Linked DNA regions of Homo sapiens: region 2 is linked to region 1. Evidence: promoter capture Hi-C in human tissues and cell types (Jung and others, 2019). All regions are on one chromosome and are shown on one strand. Each heading gives the region's core, a stretch centred on a gene start or on the middle of the fragment in contact. The rest is flanking DNA. Distances are from core to core; before and after follow the strand shown.

Region 1 (5,697 bases), core at 955-3,454:
AAAACTTTTCAATTTATGCCCATTTTAAGCATAGAACTATATTCAAATACAGTTCTAATGATATTCTTGCTCAACTTCTGAAAGGCACAGGCTAAAAAATTTGCATGTTTTGCAACAGCCTAGAAGTAGAGTTCATGTATTATCAGGTTGGCCTGAATTTCCTCACTGCTGTGATATAATGGATAGTACCAACTCCAAGAATTCATAGAACATGGATGGATACACAGGGAACCAAACCAAGAGCGAGTAAGTTAAATGGTTAGTTCATTCAAGGAGCGCTCATCAATTGCCTACCAGGCATGTGTCAGTTAAATACAGCTCAGGGAACACTAGCTTGTTTCTTTCAACTCAGGAAACATTTATTCTATTGGAGAATGAGGATTTTCCCCATATGAAGGACTGACTCTGGGTTAAAAGTTAATAACAAATCAGCAAGTTGTATTACAATGGTTTGCTTGTGGAATGATTTGTTTACTCTTTTTCAATTTTCCAAATTTTCAATAGTGTGTTTATATGGCATTGATAACTTTAAAACTCCTTTACAATTAAGCTGAAATAAAAAGAAATCTATAAAACAAAAAAACCCCAGCAAATATACAAATTTTAAAAATTAAACTCTTATGTCTATTCAAGTCCTTTGCCCATTTGTATCAGGTTATTTGACTTTTTGTTGCTGAGTTATAGGAGCTCTTTATATATTCTGGATATTAATCATATCAGAGATCTAACATTGTCAAATTCATAGAAGCAAAAGGTAGGATGGTAATTACCAAGTGCTAGAGGGGAGAGGAAAAGGGGGAGCTGTTTGATGGACAAAGTTTCAGGTTTGCAAGATGAAGAAATTCTGAAGATCTATTTTAAAGCAATGTGACTGTATGTTAACACTACTGAACTGTACATTAAAAATGATAAAAATGTGGTGTTTACCCCAATTTTTAAAAATGCATGAAAATAAAACACTTGTGACAGAATAATAAATCAGCTTCTGTTTAAAAAGAAACCTGCATCAGGCAAACAAGTCCTATAATGGTAATTCTTCAAAGAACCAAAGTTCACTACTACCAGATGTGTTATTACTAAACCATTAATAAGAATAAGACCTACTGGAAGTGCATAAGGCTAATATTTCAGTTTCAGCAAAAGCAACAACAAAATTCTAATGTCGTAATAAGGTAGGTTTAACTAGTTAATGCTTTTAAAAAAATAGTTGAGTTTTTCTTTGTTAATTTATAGAAATCATCTGAATGCAAAATAAGCAATCAAGGATTCATTTATTTTTATTTGCCCTAGTTTGGTCAAATTGTTGATAGAATAATGTTTAGAACTAATTTTTAAACCTGAATGAACCATTTTTATTTTTTCTTTTCTCTCTCTTTCTTTCTTTCAAGACAAGGTCTTGCTCTGTTGCCCAGGCTGGAGGGCAGTGGCAGGATCAGAGCTCACTGCAGCCTTTTACTCCTAGCTTCAAGTGATCCTCCCGCCTGGGCCTCCCAAAGCCTGGTGTTTCCTTTAATGATTTAAAAATGTTATTCTAGTGTTGGTCTTTGCAAAGCCCTTTAAAACCGCCAACTTCAGCTTGTTCGATTTTGAAATGCGTGGCCTGAGAAATCTCCTAGGTCTTGAACATTATAAATGGGTACTATGCTCATTTTGAGGGAGCCCTGGTTTACACAAACCTGCTGCTGAACTTAGCCGTACTTACAACAAGCACTTTATTGATCTATTATAATTGATGTATTAAAATAAACAAACGAACATCACCTCCTGTCTGTAAAGCAAAACACATTTTGACTTTGGAGTTAACGTTTGCGACAGCCTTCTAACCTATGGACGTGTTCCTCAGAACTGGGTTTCTAGAAAAGCTAGGAGAAGACCCCAGCGCAGGGGAGAGGAGAGGGCGAATTGGGAAAGAACTGCTAGGGTAATCACTTCCTCGACTGGGCATGGGGTGGCACCTGAGCCCTGGCACGCGGGGCTGGGAGGGCGAGTCGCCAGCGGAGGCGAGGCCAGAAAGTCAGAGGAAAGAGGGGACCAGAGAGCCACAAAGGCAGAGCTGGAGAAGGCAGGGCGGGCAGCGGGGGCGAGGGAGAGAAAAAGAGGGAGGCGGAGCTGCCCGGGCGGGCGGGGGCGGGGGCGCGGGCGGGAGCGGGCGCGGAGGCGGCGCCGCAGCCCCAGCCGGGCCGGACGCGGGAGGGTCAGGGCCAGGGTGAGCGCCCGACTCCGAGCTGTCCCCGCTCCCGGCGCGGCGCTCCGCTCTCAGCCACCTCACGGCTGCCAGGAGTGCGCGGGAGTTTGCCCCGGAGCGCGGGGAAGTTTCCTCCGAAGCTGCGCTCCTGGAACAGCAGCACCTGCAAGCGCCCGGCAGCGGCCCGCGAGGTAACCGCGCTGGGGCTGGGGTTGGGGCTGGGGGGCACTGGAGGGGCAGAGATGATGGCGCGCTGCTGGGTACCCGCGCCGGGAGCGGGCTCTGGTGGGCGGGGACGTGCGCCCTCACCTTTCCAGGTGCTTCGCCGCTGGAGATGCGGGAGGCTTCTTCCTTTTTCTATCTCCCCTACCTCCAGTATTCCAACCCACTTCCCTTCACTTCAGTGGACGCATGGCGGGAGGTGGGGGGCGGGAGCAGGAGGGGATCCTGACTTTGAGGGGGCGCTGGAGAAGGACGGCCGCCTGAACTTGTCAGCTACCTGAGTTTCCTTCCTGCGCCCCGGCGGGGCACCCTGGACTCCAGGATTCCGGGGTCAGACCCCTCTTGGGGCATGCAGAGGTTGGAAAGAGGACGGCAGGAACAGTCTTTAGTTTCTGCTGCCAGTCTGTCGGGTCCTCCAGGGTGTGTGGCAGAAAGACGAGCATCTCTGCTGCGGGGGTGCCTCCTTTGCGTCAGTCTCAAACTCCGCGACCTGGCTCAGGCTCAGGCGCAGGCTGCGGGAGAGGTGGGAGGGAAGTTAGGGGGACCGGGAGGCCAGGTGCGATCGTGGCCAGAGCAGAGGGGTTGGGAGGGGCGATCTGAGGAGGGGCTCCAAGTGGGTTGCGGGGAGAAGGAATGGTGTGTTTGTTTCTGCTGCTGTTACTTTCACAGGGTTGCCTGCTCCCTCTTCTGCCCCGTTTGAACATCCTGCCTATCAGCATGTTTCTGTTAGAAGGTGTTATGGTTGATGTCTGTCAGGAGTTATTTCCAACTAAGTTCACAGGTGCTAAGTCTAGAGCTGCAGGCCTTCCTCCTTTCTCTCTCTCTGCGGTCCACCCCCAGCTCCCTCCCACAAACATACTGTGCCTGAATAATCCCCAGCGTTTTGAAAGCGATGGCAAGTGAATAATACACAATGTGTGTGTGTGACTTTTTTCTCCCTATTATGCTATCAGATCCAAATCAAAACGCCGTGGATGCTTAACAGGACTCCCTTTTCGCAGTTTTTCTGATAATTGAGAGTATTACCAATGTTTATTTTTCTTCGCTTTAACCTCAGAATTGCATTAATCTATCTTTGTACAATTTTATTTACATTGTTATTATTCCTCTCGGTTTGAAGGACAGGGGCCTCTTTTCAACTCACATATACACATCCAAATGCATTGTGACCATATTTAGTATTTATCTGTCTTCTGATTCAGTTGGCTGGCACCTGTTAATTCCAGTACCTAATCATAACACCATATGCCTGCCAACCAACGTGAGGATAAGGTGAATGCTATTGTTTTTCATGGGCAAGAGCACCCTGAACTACCACTTTTTATTATTGCTCAAAGGGTGTAAGAGCTTCAATCAAAGTGAATCAAATTTACAAAACAATATTACAATTCTACACCATACGATCAAACAGTATGATTCCTAGGCACTTACAGCTGACTAGTAATTGAGGAAAAATTAAAATCCTCTCATCATATGGAAAACATTTAGATTGCATATCGTCAATAAGAAATAGCACACACTGAATGCCCCCAGAAAACGAGAAGAATGTTCCTCTTACCTCATTTGGTTTTTATCCCCTTCATTACAGTACCGTCCTCCAGAAAATGAGCACCTTGCATATAGATGTTGGTATGTACTAACTAAACACCATATTTTTTAATACAGAGGCTTGGTGATAGTCCAAAAACATAAATGTTTTAAATCATTACCAACCATCTGTTCTCTCCCACTCACTTACAGCACAATGTTTTATTTTCACAGGTATCAAAACGTACTTACTCATTTCATACATTCCCATGACTATCCTGAAAGCTGTAATGGTATCCAATGTTGACTCAAGTTCAGTAACTGTTGTGTTTGGCTTATTACACCATAAGCTCTGCTTCTTTTATTTTCAATGAAAGAAGACATTCTAAAAGTTTCAAAGCACTTGGCCAAGGCTGGTGTATACTCCAGTAAAAATCTGATTGCTTTCCCCCCACCCCCCACCTTTTTGTTAACAGAGAGAAGCTAGAAATTAGTGCAGCTGCAGGGCCCTCCTGATGACCTTCTTTTCCTTTCTTCCTGGTCACAAGGGTAGCATTTGATGCTCTGAAGAAGTGCATTAAAAAGCCCTGTGACTTCAGAAACTTAGTATGGTTTCCAGGAGAATGTAACATCTTCCAAGGAAGAATTTACAAAATAAGAGACTAACTTACTCTTACAAATTCCAAATTCAGTAAACCTAAGAAATACACATTGTTTCCCACATCAGTATTGCATATGAATAGCATAGGATGTGAGATAGGATATGAATAACATGTTTACCTGTTATTATATACTTTATATTTGTATTTGGGAATCTGGATGAGTTGGGATGTAATCAGCAGATAGATTCACACTCTTTGTTTGGTTGATGTCATCAATAAAGCAAGATTTGAGATATTCAGTTCCCTATCCAAGAAAGATTTCCCATTTAGGGGTGTTTGCTCTAATTAGAGCTTCAATATTACGGTATTTTATCATTCCAAATTAAGTTACATAATACATCCTTTGTTCCTTTAGCCTAGCCAGCACATTAGGAAAATTCTTTTCACTCAAATATGGGTGCAATGTCCCAAAGCATTTTCATATTTTTTGAGGAAAAAGATAGTGATGATCTTTTTCACACTTTGCAAATAATTGATGTGTACTTGAAGATTATCAGGAACCAAGAAAAAGTGGGCCATTATCACCAGCTACAGTGTTCTATACTGCTCTTTTCCCTGAAAGCGTTAAGATTCTCCTAACTTAGAAGAATGGCTTTGGACAGAATAAACCCAAACTACAGATAATTTTGAAAGTAAAGTTGCCTTTAAAAATATAGTCTAATTAAAACCTTTGGATATTACATAAGAACATGTTACATCTTATTTTTCTGTATCCTAAAAATGAATTATTGAGGAGAAACAGTTTCACCATGTATAGTAAATACTCTGAATTATTCATGTTAATGAGAAAAATAGAGGCAAAGATAATGTAAAATCATGGTTATTTAAAAAGTCATTTGTGTTTGTCTTTGGAATGTATTGCATGTTTGGTTTAAAAAAGATTTTCATTGTTATTGTGGGCAAGTTGCCTTTCTAATTATTTTCTTGTGTTTAGGTTAATTTTTAAATGAGTTTTCATGCCTCAAACACGAAAACCCATTTGTGGGGAGGTGGGGAAGATGGGCAGACTGCCCAGAAATGAGCTGGGTGGCAGAAGTGAGCAAACCTGGTATGAAAACTTTGCAGGAAATCATATGTAATTCAAAGAAAGATAAGCAAGAC
Region 2 (5,841 bases), core at 136-2,635, 40 kb before region 1:
ACCTCAGGCTCCTAGAGTCTATGCATGTGCCCATTCAGAGTTGTATGTGCCAGTTTGGTTTTGACCATTCTCCCTGTCCCATCTGACTAGGTAAATATTTAAAGGGTGAAGGTAGTAACAGCCAAACAAGTGATGCTGCAGGTTTATCTACAAATTCAAAAGGAGTCAAGGGTTTCAACATTAGATGTGTAAAGTCCTTGTATTGGTTCGAACCCCGAGAGCACACCAACAAATAACACGAGGCGGTATGGAGCAACATGCTGTTTTAATGAGTGCCTGGGTGCAGGCGGGCTGAGGCCTAAAATGGCATCAGCACCAAGTGAGGATGGGGCAAAGGTTTTATAGTCTCCTGTAAACAGGAAGTGTCCTAGTCTGACCTAACTGCTACGTTGTACCTGGATAGCCTCTTTCTTGATCTTCAGAGGTACATGTCTTCCGGCTGGCTCTCTTCCTGCTTCTGCTATCTTGCTGGCGCACGCTGCTGCTGCAAGTAGCTTTGCACCTTGGTACCAGGCCTGAGAAGGGAGGAGTTATTCATCTCCTTAAGCTTTCAGGCCTGGGGAAGAACCTTAAAAGATGTACCTGTGAAGCTCTTGCTTCCTACACATCAAGAAGAGAAGCACTTCTCTAACTTTTTAGTTACCTGAGCCTTATTTCCTGTTTGTTTGTTTGTTTGTTTTGAGGGCGAAGTAAATGTGACGTGCTTTTGATATCTATGCCATCGTACTAATGCCAAATTGAAATTATTATGGTGATGACTTACGTGTAGATGCTATTTCATGTTGTTATTATTTTTTATATTAAAAACCATTGGATTCTGGCCAGGTGCAGTGGCTCACACCTGTAATCCCAGCACTTAAGGAGGCCAAGGTGGGTAGATCACCTCAGGTCAGGAGTTTAAGACCAGCCTGGCCAACATGGCAAAACCCTGTCTCTACTAAAAATACAATAATTAGCCAGGTGTGGTGGTGAGAGGTGAAGCCAGCTGGACTTCCTGGGTCGAGTGGGGACTTGGAGAAGTTTTCTGTCTAGCTAGAGGATTGTAAATGCATCAATCAGTGCTCTGTGTCTAGCTAAAGGATTGTAAACACAACAATCAGCACTCTGTAAAAATGCACCAATCAGCACTCTGTGTCTAGCTAAAGGTTTGTAAATGCACCAGTCAGCACTCTGTAAAATGGAGCAATCAGTGCTCTGTAAAATGGACCAATCAGCAGGACGTGGGCAGGGCCAAATAAGGGAATCAAAGCTGGCCACCTGAGCCAGCAGTGGCAACCCACTGGGTCCCCTTCCACACTGTGGAAGCTTTGTTCTTTCGCTCTTCGCAATAAATCTTGCTGCTGCTCACTCTTTGGGTCTGCACTACCTTTATGAGCTGTAACACTCACCTCAAGGGTCTGCGGCTTCATTCCTGAAGTCAGCGAGACCACAAACCCACCGGGAGGAACAAACAACTCCGGACACGCCACCTTTAAGAGCTGGAACACTGACTGCGAAGGTCTGAGGCTTCACTCCTGAAGTCAGCGAGACCACCAACCCACTGGAAGGACGAAACTCTAGACACATCTGAACATCTGAAGGAATAAACTCTGGACATACCATCTTTAAGAACTGTAACATTCATGACGAGGGTCCACGGCTTCATTCTTGAAGACAGCAAGACCAAGAACCCACCAGAAGGAACCAATTCTGGACACAGGGGCACATGACTGTAATCCCAGCTACTCGGGAGGCTGAGACAGGAGAATTGCTTGAACCTGGGAGACAGAGGTTGCAGTGAGCCAAGATTGTACCACTGCTCTCCAGCCTGGGTGTCAGAGCAAGACTCTGTCTCAAACAAACAAACAAAAAACATCAGATTCTCCTTCCTATTTAAAAACAAACAAGCAAGCAAACAAACAAACAAAAAAAACTTTAAAGCACAGTATTACTTTTACTAGCATGTAAAAGATGAACTGTATAAAAATGTAGACAGACCGGGAAAAAATGGCAGATAGGAAGCAGGACTAACTTGCAGTTCCCACTTGAACAGACAAAGCAGCATTTGGAGACTCACACTGTGAAATTTTGCCCCAAGAACTACCATAGGAACATACCAAAAAAGCTGAAAGAATCCACAGACACTTTAAAGGGGGTGGATTGCTGCTGCAGGCTGCATGGGACAGCCAAGGAACTGTGAGTCTGCTTGCTTTCTCAGCTGGGAGGCTTGTAGCCTGGGGCAATTTCTCAGCCCTGCTCACTGCCTGCCTGGAAATAAACTCGGTGCTTCGGTGCTGTTGTGGGGGCACAGTGGGAATGAGGCTGGCCTTTCAAGCTGCAGGCTGCAGGCTCCATGGGAGCTGGGTGAGGCTTGTGGCTGCTGGCTTTCTCCCACTTCCTTGGCAACCTATGTGACACAGCAGAGGTAGCCATAATTTCCCAGGAACATAATTCAACTGGACTGGAAACAACATCCCATCCCCCACAGCAGCCACGGCAAGCCCCACCCAAGGAGAGTCTGAGCTCAGACATGCCTAACCCTGCCCCCACCTGATGGTCTTTCTCTACCTGCCCTGGTAGCCAATGACAAAGGACATAACCTCTTGGGAGCTCTATGGACCTGCCCACCACCTGAGAATCCTGAATACTTATCCAAAGGCAACTCTAGGGAAAGCTTGTATCCTCCATATACTACTGCAGCTGATGCACTCTTGAAGGCTCCACCTCCTGGCTGAAGGCCAACCAACACAAAATCAGGGCATTCAACAAAAATACAACCAAGTACCCTCCCAGAGTCCAATTGACTCCCCTGCTACCTCCATCAGAGCAGGTGCTGGTATCCGTGGCTGAGAGACCTGAAGACAGATCACATCACAGGACACTTTGCAGGCACTCCCCAGTACCAGCTCAGAACCCAGTAGCTCTGCTGAGTGGCTAGATCCAGAAGAGAAATAACAATCACTGCAGTTCAGCTCTCAGGAAGCCCTATCCCTAGGCAAGGGGGAGAGCAACACATCAAGGGAGCAGCCCAGGGACAAAAGAATCTGAACAGCAACCCTTTAGTTCCAGATTTTCCCTCTGACATAGTGTACTCAAATAAAAAGGAATAAAAAAAACAATTCTGGTAATATAACAAAACAAGGTTCTTTGACACCTCCAAAAGACCACACTAGCTCCCCAGCAATGAATCCAAACCAAGAAGAAATATATGAATTGCCAAAAAAAGAATTCAGAAGGTTGGTTATTAAGCTAATCAAGAAGGCACCAGAGAAAGGTGAAGTCCAACTTAAAGAAATCAAAAAAATGATACAGGATAGGAATGGAAAAATCTCCAGTGAAATAGATAGCATAGATAAAAAAACAATCACAACCTCTGCAAATCAAGAACACACTTGGAGAAATGCAAAATGCACTGGAAAGCCTCAGCAATAGAATTGAACAAATAGAAGACAGAACTTCAGAGCTTGAAGACCAGCCTTCTGAATTAACCCAATCTAATAAAGACAAAGAAAAAAGAACTTAAAAAAATGAACATAACCTCCAAGAAGTTTGGGATTATGTTAAACAATCAAACACAAGAATAATTGGTGTTCCCAAGGAAGAAGAAAAATCTAAAAGTTTGGAACACATATTTGAGGGAATAATTGAGGAAAATGTCCCCATGATTGCTAGAGATCTAGACATCCAAATACAAGAAGCTCAAATAACACCTGGGGAATTTCATTTCAAAAAGATCGTCACCTAGGCACATAGACATCAGGTTATCTAAAGTCAAGATGAAGGAAAGAATCTTAACAGCTGTGAGGCAAAAGCATCAGGTAGCCTATAAAGGAAACCCTATCCGATTAACAGCAGATTTATCAGTAGAAACCCTACAAGATAGAAGGGATTGCTTCCCATTTTTAACCTCCTTAAACAAAACAATTATCAGCCAAAAATTTTGTACCCAGTGAAACTAAGCTTCATAAATAAAAATACAGTCTTTATTCAGACAAACAAGTGCTACCAAGCCAGCACTACAAGAACTGCTAAAAGGAGCTCTAACTCTTGAAACAAGTCCTCAAAATACACCAAAATAGAATATCCTTAAAGCATAAATCTCACAAGACCAACAAAACAATAACACAATGCCAAAAAAAAAGGTATTCAGGCAAGAAATAACACAATGAATAAAATAGTACCTCACATCTCAATACTAACGATGAATATAAATGCCCCAAATGTTCCACTTAAAAGATACAGAATTGCAGAATGGACTCACTAACCAAGCATCTGCCATCTTCAAGGGACGACTCACCTGACACATAAGGACTCACATAAACTTAATGTAAAGGGGTGAAAAAAGATATTCCATGTAAATGGACACCAAAAGCAAGCAGGAGTAGCTATTCTTATATTAGACAAAGCAAACTTTAAAGCAGCAGCAGTTAAAAAAGACAAAGAGGAACATTATATAATGATAAAAGGACTAGTCAAACAGGAAAATATCACAATCCTAAATATATATGCACCAAACACTGGGGCTCTCAAATTTTATAAAGCAATTACTGCTAGAGCTAAGAAATGAGATATATGGCAACACAATAATATTGGGGAACTTCAACACTCCACTGACAGCACTAGACAGGTCATCAAGACAGAAAGTCAACAAACAATGGACTTGTACTATACCCTAGAACAAATGGATTTAACACATATCTACAGAACATTCTACCCAACAACTGAACAACTGCAGAACATACGTTCTATTCATTAGCACATGGAACTTTCTCCAAGATAGACCATATGACAGGCCACAAAACAAGCCTCAACAAATTTGAGAAAATAAAAATTACAGCAAGTACTCTCTCAGATCACAGGGAAATAAAATTGGAAATCAACAACAACAACAAAAAACCCTCAAAACTATGCAAATATATGGAAATTAAATAACATGCTCCTGAATGATTGTTGGTTCAACAATGGAATCTGGATCCAATTGTTCTCATTGCATTTAAATTTTGTAGTTGAGTGACTGCAGTTTCCGCTGTTAAATCTGGCGTAAAGAGAAGATCAATCACAGAGCTCTTCAAGGATGTAGGTGCCCCCCTCACAAATCTATTTTGCAAGGTATTGTTGAAAGGTATGTCTTCTGGACCTTATCAGTTGGGATGAGTAGGCCTAAGGTAACTAATCTATTCTAGCATTTCAATCTCCCTAAGCCTTTGGATCCCTTCCTCTACACTAAACCAAGGGAGATCAGGTATTTCCAGCTCACTCACAGTGGGCCACCTTTTGATCCATGTTTCAGCTAAGCAAGCAAATAAACTATTAGAACATTTTTTAACTCCCTGAGTTGCAACATTAAAAGCAGAATCGTTGTTTACTGGGTCCAGATAAATAAATTCAGCCTTATCCAACTCTATGTTCCTTCCACTATCATCTGACATCCTTAATATCCATTCCCATGCCTGTTCTCCAGATTTCTGCTTATATAAATTAGAAAACTCAAGCAGTTCTTTTTGAGTGTAGTGCACCTCCTCATAGGTCACATTCTGAACTTCACCTCTAGGGGTCTGCTGGTACTTTGGTCTAGTTATAAGTCTAGAAGCAAACAGGGGTGTTGGGGGTGGCTCCTGAGGAGAATAATCATTATCTTGTCTGGAGCTGCCTCAAGGGAGGCCATCACTGTTGTCTTAGGCAGCGCAGGGTTTATCTCCTCAGACAAAGGTGGAATGGCTGATGGCAGTGTGGGTCAGGGAAGGGATGTTGCCACTACTGGGGATGGGGAAGCTGTTTCTTCTGGTAAGAAAGTTTCATCAGAGTTTACAAGCTCAGTGTCCCCAGCTTCAATAGGGTCCTCCTACTTGTCCCTATTCCAAA

The links. The method cuts DNA at HindIII sites, captures the fragments that hold promoters and counts their contacts. A contact is called where the count stands out against the background at its distance.
Region 2: a fragment that was not itself captured here is called in contact with the fragment with the promoter of CHST9 in region 1 in 4 of the 25 tissues and cell types used here (aorta, heart left ventricle, hippocampus and 1 more).

The regions. Positions count from the first base shown.
Region 1 is chr18:27,181,815-27,187,511 of GRCh38, reverse strand. CHST9 (carbohydrate sulfotransferase 9) reads left to right here and starts at 2,204. Exons shown (of 6, transcript NM_031422.6): 1 at 2,204-2,376. The HindIII fragment of the contact is 14,900 bases long and covers 1-5,697 here.
Region 2 is chr18:27,220,516-27,226,356 of GRCh38, reverse strand. LINC01908 (long intergenic non-protein coding RNA 1908) reads right to left here and starts at 2,297. Exons shown (of 7, transcript XR_002958212.2): 1 at 2,097-2,297; 2 at 1,600-1,757. RefSeq lists an enhancer at 2,433-2,956. The HindIII fragment of the contact is 3,822 bases long and covers 1-3,296 here.